Regions from separate parts of the Homo sapiens genome. Here region 1 is linked to region 2. Evidence: promoter capture Hi-C in human tissues and cell types (Jung and others, 2019). All regions are on one chromosome and are shown on one strand. The core of a region is centred on a gene start or on the middle of the fragment in contact, and the rest is flanking DNA. Distances in the headings are between cores, read along the strand shown. Region 1 overlaps TASOR2 (transcription activation suppressor family member 2). Region 2 holds the start of RBM17 (RNA binding motif protein 17).

Region 1 (6,338 bases), core at 209-2,708, 380 kb before region 2:
GGCATAGGTTTTTTTAAATCTCTCAGTATGATTAATTTTATGAATAAATTGTCTAATGTTACACCTTCCTTCCTTGAATTCCTGGCATAAGCTTTATCTCAATCATGTTGTTTTATATTTTATATATATTGCTAGTTTAGGTTTTTCTGATTTTTTTTTTTTTTTTTTTTGAGACAGTCTCACTCTGTCACCCAGGCTGGAGTGCAGTGGCACAATCTCGGCTCACTGCAAGCTCCGCCTCCCGGGTTCATGCCATTCTCCTGCCTCAGCCTCCCGAGTATCTGGGACTACAGGCGCCCGCCACCACGCCCGGCTAATTTTTTGTATTTTTAGTAGAGACGGGGTTTCACTGTGTTAGCCACGATGGTCTCGATCTCCTGACCTCGTGATCCGCCCGCCTCTGCCTCCCAAAGTGCGGGATTACAGGCGTGAGCCACCGCGCCCGGCCTCTGATGTTTTTATTTAAGATTTTTTTGCATGTGTTGTCATTGGTGATGTTACCTTAAAATGTTCTTTTATAGTTGTTCCTTTCTGGGTTTTCATTCAAGGTTGTGCTAGACTTATAATTTGAGAAAGTTTTCATTCTTGGCCAGGCGTGGTGGCTCACACCTGTAATCCCAGCACTTTGGGGGGCCCAGGTGGGTGGATCCACCTGAGGTCAGGAGTTTGAGACCAGCCTGGCCAAGATGGTGAAACCCCATCTCTACTAAAAATACAAAAATTAGCTGGGCCTGGTAGTGGGCGCCTGTCATCCCAGTTACTCGGGAGGCTGAGGCAGGAGAATCACTTGAACCTGGGAGGCGAAAGTTGCCGTGAGCCGAGATCACACCATTGCACTCCAGCCTGGGTGACAGAGTGAGACTCCATCTCAAAAAAAAAAAAAAAGAAAGTTTTTATTCTTGAGAATAATGTTTATGTGGGAAAACTTCTGGGCTTGAGACTTACATACCTATAACAACTAACTCTACCACTTATTTAATAGTTGTAGGTATATTCTGTTTTCTTAAGTAGGTTTTGATAAATTATTTCTGGAAAATTCCCCTGTTTTCTCTATGATTTCAATTTTTTCTATAAAAATTGTTTCTATTACCCTTATAATTTATAGTACATATAAATCACACTCCTTTTTATTTGTAATGTTGGTTTTCAGTGCCTTGTTTTGTCCTTGATTAATTTGACTAAAGATATATCAATATTTTTTGTCAAAAAGCTAATCTTTTTTCAGCTATTTTTTCTTCGGTTTAATTAATATCTGATCTTCTCTTTTTATTTCCTCCTCTTATTTGCTTTGGGTTTACTGTGTTGTTCCATTTTCTGAGTTCTTGAATTGACCGTAGCTTATTGATTCTTTAAATGTTTTTCTTTTGTAGTGTATACATTTGAAATGAACAGTTTCTTATAGCTATTTTAGATAATATCTTAAGCTTAGATCATGTTACTCTTTAACTTATGAACCATTTATATGTAGGATTTTTAAAATTTAAATTTCCAAACATGAGGCTTTTGAGATTAACTTTTTATGGTTACATTGTCATTTTACTTGATTTTGGTCAGAGATCAGTTGTTTTTTAGTACTCTTGGAATTTCCTTTGTGGCCAAATTCATAACCATTAGGTTTTGTTTTGGGGCTTTCAGCTCAACTTCATTGAGGTCTAATTTTCATACAATAAAATGAACATAATTTAAGTATATAGTTCAGTGAATTTTGGTAAATGTATATACCATGTGATGACTACACCAATAAAAATAGTGTGTGTCCATCACCCCAGAAAGTTCCCTTGTGCATACCCCACTTGTAGTCAATTTTCCTATTCCTGCCCCCTGCTGTAGGCAACTAATGAAATGCTTTTTATCACTATAGATTAATTTTGCTGCTTCTTGAACTGTATATGTATAGAATTTTACAGTATGTACTCTTGTGTCTGATGACTTTTGCCCAGTTTAATGTTTTGAGATGCATGCATATATCAGTTTTACTTTTTTTAATTGCTGATTATTATTATGTGTGAATATACAAGTTTATCCATTCACCTATTGATGAATATTGGAGTTGCTTCCAGTTTTAGGCTACTGTGAAAAAGCTGCTCTGAACATTCATGTGCAAGTGTTTTTGTGGATATGTTTTATTCTCTTGGGTAAATATCTAGGAATAGAATTTTGGGTCATATGGTAAGTATGTGTTTATAAGAAACTGATGTTATTTTTTAAATTGGCTATATAATTTTTCAGTTGGCTTTATATTTCTACTAGGAGTGTTCCAGAGGCTCCTCATCCTTGCCAACGCTTGGTATTTTCAGTCTTTTTAGCCATTCTACTGGAGCAGTAGTATTTTATTGTGGTTTTAATTAGCACTTCCCTGATAACTAATAATATTGACCCATTTCCCATGTTTCTTTTTATTATATGCTTTATTTTGTGAAATGTGTCTATGAGTTTTTTATATATTCTAGGTACAGGTACTTTACAAATATTTCCCATTTCTTAATAATGATACCTTGGAAGATCAGATGGTTTTAATTTTTAGGAAGTCTGATGTATACATTTTTCTAGGTCACTAATTTTGTGCCCTATGAAAACTTTATGTACCCCATAGTCAAGTACATTTTTTCCTATGATTTTTTAAATTTTATAATTTTAGCCAAATAGTTATAGTTTTTATGTTTAGGTCTGTGATTCATTTTGAGTTAAATTTTATGGTTTAAGGTAGAGGTTTGAGGTTCATGTTTTTTTCCTCCGTTTTAGTTGTTCTGTAGCAGCATTTATTGCAAAGATATTCTTTCTCAATGGAATTATACTGGCAATATTGAAAATCTGTTATCTGGACTCTATTCTGTTCCATTGATCTATATGCATTTTCTTTGTATCATTACCACCTTGTCTTGACTACTTTAGCTTTGTAGTAATTCTCAAAATCAGGTAGTGAGTCCTTCAGCTTTGTTCTTTTTCAAAATTGTTTTGGCTTATATCTTTCTTATATAAATTTTAGAATCAGATCATCAGTTTCTGCAAACTGAGATTGTGTTGAATCTGTAGATCAATTTTGTGTCTTAACATCCCCCAGCAAAGTTAGAAAGCCAGGCAGTAATATCAGAGGGCACAAGCCCAGATTGAAGCTGGAAGACATAGTGCTCCAGAAAGGTCCTTCCAAAAAAAAGAAAAGAAGCTGCTCAAAACAGACAAAATCTTTGATCTATCTTTATCCAGAGGATATTGTTAGTTCTCTAGAATTTCAAGCTGAAATAATGATTGGTAACTGAAAATTAAGCTATTTTAAATTCAGAAAAGCAAAACACGGTATAAGGAAAGAACTTGACTACACAGTATGGCTCAGCAATGATTAATACATACAGTTAAGTAGTGAAACCTAGGCCTAGCACGGTGGCTCATGCCTGTAATTCCAGCACTTTGGGAGGCCGAGGTATGCAGATCACTTGAGGCCAGGAGTTCGAGACCAACCTGGCTAACATGGTGAAATCCCATCTCTACTAAAAATACAAAAATTAGCCGGGCATGTTGCTGGGCACTTGTAATCCCAGCTACACGGGAGGCCGAGGCAAGAGAGTTGCTTGAACCCGGGAGGTGGAGGTTGCAGTGAACCAGAATCAAGCCACTTACGCTCCAGCCTGGGCCACGGAGCAAGACTCCGTCTCAAAAAAAAAAAAGTAAGCACCCAACAAATGTTAGCCATTGTTATCATTAATAACAATAGCTTCCTTGCTAACAAATACTAGGATAACGTCTCTATCCATGGCAGCAAAGAAAAAAGGAATTTGCTAAGTTATCTGATGCCAGTGCACCATGCCTCATGCACAGCAAGCCTTCAGTAAAGTTCCTTGTAGAGTCACAACTGAAAGGAGCTTTAGAAAGGCAATTATAACTAAAGGAGGCCTTAGAGAGTATAAATTTAACAAAATCCATCAGTTAGTATGTCTTCAGCTTCCAATAAAAGTTTAAACAATAAGGAACATTTATTATTTCATGTATAAAGCCCAAAGATGAGGCAGCCCCCAGGTTAGTTTATTTCATCAGTTCAGGGATCTAGTTTCTTTCTGTTCTGTTCCGTTCTATGTTGGCTGCCATCTTGGTTGCAAGGAGATCCAGGCAACACATCTTCAGACAAGATCCTAGGCTAGAAGATGGAGTCCTTTTCTAAGAAAGGTTTCCCAGAACTCTCTCTGTAGACTTCCATTTATATCTCACTGGCCAGAACTGAGTCACATGTTTATTCCTAAAACAAACACTATTCAAAGGGAGTGGAATTACCATAATGATCTTAGAGTAATTAAGATTCTCATTCTCTTTCTCTCTCTCTCTCTCTCTGTCTCCCCCCCCAACCCCACACACACACATACTCACTCTCCCTCACTCATTTTCACACACACACACACACACACACACACACACACACACACACACACACACTTCTTCTGAACCATGGGATAACCTGATACCTGAACAAAATTGTGGTTTTATGGAAGGGAAGTAAAAGGGACATGATTGTTGGGAAGTCAATCCAATGTGTCTTTAACCACTGTCTCAAAACACATTAGTGGTAGCACCTAGTGAGTTCAATAGGTAGACCAGAACCCTGGTCTCCCTATTCCTAATTTTCCCCTACATAAACAACCTCCTTCATGAATTATTATCAACATAGCTACTTTTCCTAAAAAATTTTGAATGTATCCACACAATTCTACCTCCAGTTCTTTTTGGGGGGAAAATGTGCTGTAAAACTATACATGCTGTTTTTGTGAAGCATATGAAAATCCTTATTCCACAGACTCATGATAAAAACTGAAAACTTGACCACCTTTGTAATCTTTTTCTTCGTTCTTATTCTTCTCTCCCTTCTTCCCTTAATCAGTCATATTAAACTATTTGCAGTTCCTTTAATGTATCATGTTTAAACCGCTGTTCATTTGCTCATACTATTTCTGCTATCTAGAAAATGTACACTAGTTTCCTTTTTTGGCTTCCTCATTGGAATATCTTCCAGATTTCAAGTATCTGTGCCTCCATGAAATCTTTCTTGACATAGCTCCATCTCCATAAAATTGGTTGTATCACTGTACATCCACTATATCATGTTTTAGATACTCCTACACATTTATAGTACTAATTTCTTTGCAGATTTTTCTTCCTTGTCTATTCTGAGCTAACTTGCTTGCTTTCTCTTTCTTTCCTTTCTTTCTCTTTCTTTCTTTCTTTTTCTTTCTTTCTCTCCTTTTCTCTCTCTTTCTCTATCTCTTCCTTCCTCCCTCCCTCCCTCCCTCCCTTCCTCCCTTCCTTCCTTCCTTCCTTCCTTTCCTTCCTTTCTTCCTTCCTTCCTTTCCTTCCTTTCTTTCCTTTCCTCTCTTTCTCTCTTTCTGACATGGTCTGGCTCTGTTACCCAGGCTGGAGTTCAGGGGTGCAATCTCAGCTCACTGCAACTTCTTCCCCCCAGACTCAAGCCATCGTCCCACCTCAGCCTCCAAAGTAGCTGGGACTACAGGTGCACTCCACCATGCCTGGCTAATTTTTGTATTTTTTATAGAGGTGGGGTCTCACTTTGTTGCCCTGGCTGGTCTCAAGCTCCTGAGTTCAAACAATCTGCCTGCCTTAGCTTCCCGGCGTGCTGGGATTACAGGCATGAGCCACCTCGCCCAGCCTAATCTGAACTTTTTTAATGTAGAGCCTGTTTCCCTGTAATAGAGACTGTTTGCCATTTGTCTTGATAAATCCAAGATTTAGCATGATATTGGATGCATAATAGTCACCACTAATAGTTTTGTTTAATGAATATATATACAACTAATTTGGGGGAGGAGAGAGATTTTTGTAAATTGTGTTCTGCTTGATTCCGTTATTTTCAACTAGTGGAATAAAGATGTGGTTCTGTGATCTCTTCATTTTGAAAGATTTTTTTTCAGTAAGGCAAAAGCGATTAAGCATAATATATTTCTGTGTACAAAATTTTCTTTAGAAGTTAAAGACTTTTGGAGGAAAAACATTTCAGATTATGTGTTATAGCTTATAGAACAAATTAAGTCCTTAGCTGAGAATACTTGTCAAAGGAGGTAAATAAATATTACATAATTATTCCTAATACAAATTACTCAGCGAACATTTGTTTCTATAGTAAATATGCTATAAATAGAATTGTTCACTTTATGATTTTTTTTCTTTCTTCATTTTAGCATTTATGACATTAACAGAGAACAGGACTATGTCAAGAATTCTGAGGGTATACTTGGTGAAAATGAATTAAGACCACCCTCCCAGCTACATTCTCTCTTAGAGAAGATCGAGACAGGGTCCCTATCAGAAAAGAGTGGGTATTAAACTAAGTGCTATAAGTC
Region 2 (6,570 bases), core at 2,496-4,995:
ATAATTGAATTTCCCTAAGTTGTTATTGTTCGCTAGTTTGTTCCTATATTTTTACTATTAGAAACCTTACAGAGCAGGAATAACTGTAGAGAATGATTTAGAAAGACAAAAAAAGTGAAAAAACTTTAAAAAATCTGTGAGATGGGCCGGGCATGGTGGCTCACACCTGTAATCCCAGCACTTTGGGAGGCCAAGGCGGGTGGATCACTTGAGGTCAGGAGTTTGAGACCAGCCTGGCCAACATGGTGAAATATCATCTCTACCAAAACTACAAAAATTAGCAGGGCGTGGTGGCAGGCGTCTGTAATCCCACCTACTCAGGAGGTTGAGGCAGGAGAATTGCTCGAACCCAGGAGGTGGAGGTTGCAGTGAGCCCAGATCATACCATCGCACTCCAGCCTGGGCAACAAGAGAGAGACTCCATCGAAAGAAAAAGAAAGAAAGAAAGAAAGAAAGAAAGAAAGAAAGAAAGAAAGAAAGAAGGAAAGAAGGAAAGAAGGAAAGAAGGAAAGAAGGAAAGAAGGAAAGAAGGAAAGAAGGAAGGAAGGAAGGAAGGAAGGAAGGAAAGATTTCTGAAATGGCCGAAGCTGCTTAGAGATATACATGCCTGTAATCCCAGCACTTTGGGAGGCCGAGGTGGGCGGATCACCGGAGGTCAGGAGTTCGAGACCAGCCTGGCCAACATGGTGAAACCCCGTCTCTACTAAAAATACAAAAAGTAGCCGGGCATGGTGGCGGGCACCTGTAATCCCAGCTACTTAGGAAGCTGAGGCAGGAGAATCGCTTGAACCCGGGAGGCGGAGGTTGCAGTGAGCTGAGATTACTCCATTGCACTCCAGCCTGGGTGACAAGAGCAAGACTCCGTCTCAAAAAAAAAAAAAAAAAAAAAGATACAAAAAAGGAGACAAAAATCATTCTCCACGGTGCACCGAAAGCATCCCTACACACAGAATCCTTGGGAATACTTGTTTTTGATCAAATTATAATCTGATCAAATTGTCTTAACTAGCTTGTCTTCCCTCCAGGGCCCACACCCCTTTCTTTTCCTGTTTCGGGGTCCCCCGGTTCCATCCATGCTGCATACTGTAGCATTTCACCCAGCCTTTCCTGCCAGCCCAAACACCGCCCTTATCTTCTTTCTTCCTGGAACATCTGCCCTGCTAATTCCCAGTTTCCGATGAATTCTACCATCTGCTGCCTGCCAGCCTCCTGCCAGGCGCTGAGCACAGCTGGAGCAGATCACACGACTTGTTTACGCAGGAGTCACTACCGATGTTTGCTCTGCAGCCCCGAGGGGGCGCTCCAGCGCGTCTGTCTTGTCCCTCTTCTAAAGCTCCACCGTTTTGTGTGCGCTTTCTGATAGTTGCATGGCCTGGGTTCTGTTCCCCCATTGGGTTAAGCTTTGGATTCTCGGTGCATAAAATAAAGATGATATTTGTTACTATTGACAGGAAATGGAGGCAAGCATGAGACTGCTCACGTACTAGGAAATGAAGTAAGGCAGTTTTCCTCCTGGAAGTTAAACTAGAAAATTCCTAAACAATGGATGTGATTGCATCTATGGTCTGTAAACCAAAAAGTTACTTGTGTATGTATGATGGAATGATTTGGGAACAAAGGCACAAATTTTCAACCAAAAAGGGAGGAAGGAGTGGTCTCAGACTGCAGAGTGGAGACGCCAAGCAGATTAGGGAGTACAGGTAGACAGCAGGTTCAACCTGGAGGAAGTCCTGCAGCTCTGGACCTCCTAATCAGGGCTTTTGCACCCCCACCGGTGCTTTGATCACGGGGTGGGGAGAGACCCAGTCTAGACACCTTCTATCTTTGCCCTTCTTCCTTTTTCTGTTTACACGCTATTACTTTCTGCTTCTTTTATTGACCAAGTACGTCCTTCTGCTTCTCACATTTTTATTTTATTTCCAGTTTCTTGCACAAGTGCTTAATTCATTTAGCTTTTTCCAAGTTTTTAATTGATACAAAAACTTAAAACCATGAATTTTCCTCTTAGTACTCTCTGAGCTAAATCCCATGAGTATGTCATTTTCATACTTTTCTAGATATTATGTTATTTTGATTTTGTTTTCCTTTTTAGTCCAAGTGTTATTTAAGCATTTAAAAATTTTCAAGGGGTAGGCATGTTTTATTTTCTGTTTTTTCATTAATTTCTACTTTTATTGAATTGCTGCAGATAATATTACCGATATGATTCTACTTATTGGACTATGTTAAGATTTTTCTCTGTGGTTTAAAATATGACTAATTGTTGTGAATATTCCTTAGACACTGGAAAAGATGTAATGTCTATTTAGGGGACAGTGTTTGATATATTAGATCTATCATAGGAATTGTATTTTTAGGTCTTCTCAATCCCCATTTACTTTTTGTACTCTTCGTCTGGCAAGGAGTGTGCCAATTATTTCTGTCTATTCACTCACTCCTACAGTGTTTGCTATGAATAATGAGATTATGTGATTTGGTGCAAAGATTTTCCTATTTTTCCTATTTTTTTCTTGATTGTGAATTGTGCTCCTCAAGATTATAAAATGTCCTTCTTAATCTTACTTAATGCTTTTTGCCCTGAAATCAACTTTGTAGTAAGCGGTTTGTGATTCCTGATTTTTTTAATTTTTTTGCATATTCCTGGTATATCTTTTCCAATCTTGTATTTTCAAACTCAGAATAACGTTAGCACTTTCTTGTATACAACACTGAGTTGCATGATGGTTTGTGCTCCTATCTGAGATTGTAGTTTTTTAGTAGGTAAGCTTAGGTCTATATTTCTTCTTGTGAGACATTTGGTCTTGTTCTGTCATATAGTTTGGTTACGCTTTCTGTTTTGTAACTTTTTAAAATATTTCCCTATATATATATTTTTTTTGCTGTGGTTTTGTGTGTGTGTGTGTGTGTGTGCATGCATGTATGTGTGGGTGCATGTATGTGTGGATTATTTGAAAGCTTTGTAGTTTTGTTCTGGGTTACCCTCAGAATCATACCATCCCATGACGTCCTTAATCCTCTATTTCTTTAGATTGTCTTTTGTCTCTCCACTGTATTTCTTTTTTCCCCCTTTTCCCGTTTTCTTAATGACTGGATTTTAATGGATTATAGTAACTTTCTTGGTATACTCCTTCGGACTAAGACGTCTGCTTAAATCTCTACTATTTGATTTATCGGCTTGAACTCTATTTGACACCCAATTAATTACAGATGTAAAAATCATATTTACCCGAAGTCCCACTTTCCCTTTCCCTCCCTGCTTCTGTCAGCGACGTCGTTTTTAAAGACCGAGGCTTTATAGCATTGACATTCTTTTCTGTACCCCTAATCGCGGCATCTGTTTCCATAATCTTACGCTTAACCTCGTGCTCCTTGCCATCCTTTTGCAGCATCTGGCCTATGCAGACTTATTTTCAACTTTTTGCTTATATAGGAGTGGCTTTGAATGAATGAGATCGAGGGGCCTGGAGGGACTTCCCCCACCTCCCCTATCAGAAAGCCCGGCCTCGGACCACTTCTCCTCCTCACCATCTGGGGGCGCTGCCGCGCTCCCCAAGCCTTGTGGAATTTCGAAAATGTGCGCCAGGGCGACACCTCTTGATGGTAAGAAGACGCCGGCGGAGGGGAGCGTGCAGTGCGGTCCTCCCGCGGGCAGGGGGCAGTGCGGCAAGGCGCCCTCGGCGCAGGCGCAGAGGCCGAAGCAGGCGCAGGCGCAGGCGGGGCGCAGGCGCGGGCGCGCTCTCCCGGCAGCCCGCGCTCCCTGACCCCGCGCCGCCGAGCGCCCTGAGGACTCAGCGAAGGGTGGGCGCCGCCGAGGCCTCCTGCCGCTGGCGGGTTTCCGCGGAGTGCCGCCCGGCTCCGCTCTGCCGCCGGCGCGGCTCATGGGCAGAGTCGGCCGGGCGGGCCGGGTAAGTGGCGCCCCGGCGGCCCCGGGTGGGTGGCCTGGCGGGACCTGAGGCGGGCGCGCCTTCCCGGGAGGCGCTAGACGCAAGCCCGCGGCTTTAGGCCCGTCGCGAGGGGCGGAGGCCGGGCCAGCGCAGCCGGAGCCTCCGAGGGTCTCAGTCCCCGCGGCGGGCGCTGGTCTCTCCACGCGGCTGCGGCCCGGTACCCTCCGCCCGCCGCCGCCTCTGGTGACCCTGGCCCTGACCTTCTCCCTCTTCCCTTCCTCCTCCTCCTCCTCATGTCTGCCTCGGGCTGTTTGGTGCTGAAGAGCGTTTCTTCTCCGTCTCGTGCACCGCATCCTGACGAAATTGTCTGGTCACCAGAACCGAGTAGCCCGTAGCGTGTCCCCCCTGGCCCTGCACGGTTGCCCCTCTCTGGGGCTCGGAGCCGGTTCCTCCCGGGGTCTCAGAACTGGGAGTGCAGACGTTGGCGTTTCTCAGACTCCGGAGCTGCCCGGGACAGGAATGCAGCCCTAACCCCGGCGTCGCCTCGGCTCGTGCAGTTTGAGCGGTGTTTCAGCGCTCACGTCCGACCCCAGGCAGTCTTTGAGCTTCGCCTCTTGCCCCGAGAATGTGTAATGATCGGAGAATGCAGGTGGAATGAGGTTCTGCCCCTGCTTGCAGGAGTTTGGTTTCTGGGAAAGCAGGCGTGAAAACCCAGGCCCGGGTTGATTTGAGAAACGCAAGTGGGGTCTGGAAGGACCTCTCTTGAGAGAGGAGGTCATGCTTATGTTGAGTCTTGAAGGTACGTTGTTAGATGTGAGAGGTGGGAAAAAGGCTGCCGGCGGAGGAAGTAAGTGCGAAAGTAGCAGAAGCGAAGCCCCGTAGTGCGTTCTGGAAGCTGCAGGTTAGGCAGAAAGAAAGGTTTGAGGAGGGGCTGCTGTGTTTCCAGGAGTAGTCAGGTCAGAACATGGAGGTTTCTTGAGAAGCAGTAAAGAAGCGCCATTGAGGGTCCTTATTTTGCTAGAGCCAGGCATATGGATGGGAAATAGGATATTCTAGATAAGGGCAAGATTCGCATATACTCAAATAGATGGGTAGATGTGCACTGGCTCCCCGCAGCAGATGGAGTTTTTAAAAGGATGCAACACAAGTTTCCACATTTTTAGTTGTAAAGGCTGCAGACATTTTGATCGTAATGACAGCTTTTAGGGAATATGGGGTAACAGTTTAGTGAGCTAAACGAGAGGGCTTTATTTTTAGAGTTAGTTAAGCAAGGTGCTGCGTGCTGTCCAGTTTATAACAGAGCAGGTTGTGCGGTTGTGGAGCTCTGCGGAACCAAAGGCAGCCTTTCTGGAGGCTCTTGAGAGAATTGTTGTACACTTCCAAATGCAGCTTTATTTAAAGTGGATTTCTTTTTACCTGGTTTGTTTTAACTTACCTTCCCATTCTCCCCTGCCTATGAATTTTTCAGACCTCCTCCCAGCAGGGAACAGATGATCCCAGGCTAGTCATCTCTCAAACCTTTCATAATAGTCAATAGTGAAGGAAGTTCTGTTATTCGCCTAAATTACAGGTGACTGTAGTGGACTGTGTTTGCAATACTAGCCTATGGCATTTTGGTAACAGCCAGAGGGTGGGATTGAATGGAAAGATTAAACTGACAAGGGCGTCAGATGGAGGTATGGGAAAAATTTTTTTTTAATTCTTTAGAAAGTCATGGTAGATCTTATACTTGAGGTAGATGCTTTTTAAGCTGTATTTTTTGCGGACACCAAAGTGCACCACCCCTCCTGTTCCTTTCTGGGTATATTTGCCATATATATGTATATAAATATATAAATATTTATATATTTATATATATTTATATATTTTTATATATATATTTATATACATATATTTTTTTCTCCTGAGACAGAGTCTCACTCTATAGTCCAGGCTGGAGTGCAGCGGTGTAAGTCGGCTCACTGCAACCTCCACTTCCCAGGTTCAAATGGTTCTCTGGCCTCAACCTCCTGAGTAGCTGGAATTACAGGCGCTCGCAACCATGCTCGGCCAATTTTTGTATTTTCAGTAGGGACGGGGTTTCACCATGTTGGCCAGGCTGGTCTCGAACTCCTGATCTCAAGTGATCCTCCTGCCTCGGCCTCCCAAAGTGCTGGGATTACAGGCGTGAGCCACTGGGCCCGGTCTTGCCATATTCTTTAGGCTTCAAAGAGGCATGCTTTGTTTTATGATGCATGAATATCTGTTTAGTGATAGAAATATTTCTTGCTAACAAGCCTGCCTCTTTAGGTGCTCAGAACTCAGACCTTGACTCGTTATTGGTTGTGTGGTGGTGGTAGTTTTTTTCTCCTTAATTATGGTTTGCAATTTAAATTTTATCCTACTTATCATAAGTTATGTGCTTAAAAAGCAGATCTGCAGATCTCACTGTTTCATAATAATGTGATTTAAATAGGTGCACTAACATTTTTCATCCATTCACTAACACATTTAAAAAATATTAATAGAGCCACTTAACAATGTTCAAGCATGGTGCTGAGCTAGAGATACAAAGCTGAACATAAGAAACACCCCTGCCTTTAGGGGGCTTACACTGCAGGAAGAAACCGCTGTGTGAAACAATAGGCAGCATAACTTGCCAAGGTTGCTGTGATCTGAGTATGCTTGAGGAAACCAGTTGGGGGGG

Evidence for each region. The method cuts DNA at HindIII sites, captures the fragments that hold promoters and counts their contacts. A contact is called where the count stands out against the background at its distance.
Region 1: a contact is called between a fragment that was not itself captured here and the fragment with the promoter of RBM17 in region 2, in 1 of the 25 tissues and cell types used here (adrenal gland).

What each region holds. Positions count from the first base shown.
Region 1 is chr10:5,703,354-5,709,691 of GRCh38, forward strand. The region is part of intron 1 of TASOR2 (transcription activation suppressor family member 2); the gene reads left to right. Among named protein-coding and RNA genes, the nearest start is that of TASOR2, 22 kb to the left of the region's middle. The HindIII fragment of the contact is 5,209 bases long and covers 1-4,063 here.
Region 2 is chr10:6,085,289-6,091,858 of GRCh38, forward strand. RBM17 (RNA binding motif protein 17) reads left to right here and starts at 3,746. Exons shown (of 12, transcript NM_032905.5): 1 at 3,746-3,905. RefSeq lists enhancers at 3,398-3,447, 4,404-5,242 and silencers at 3,608-4,047, 4,058-4,147, 4,418-4,477. The HindIII fragment of the contact is 7,744 bases long and covers 2,083-6,570 here.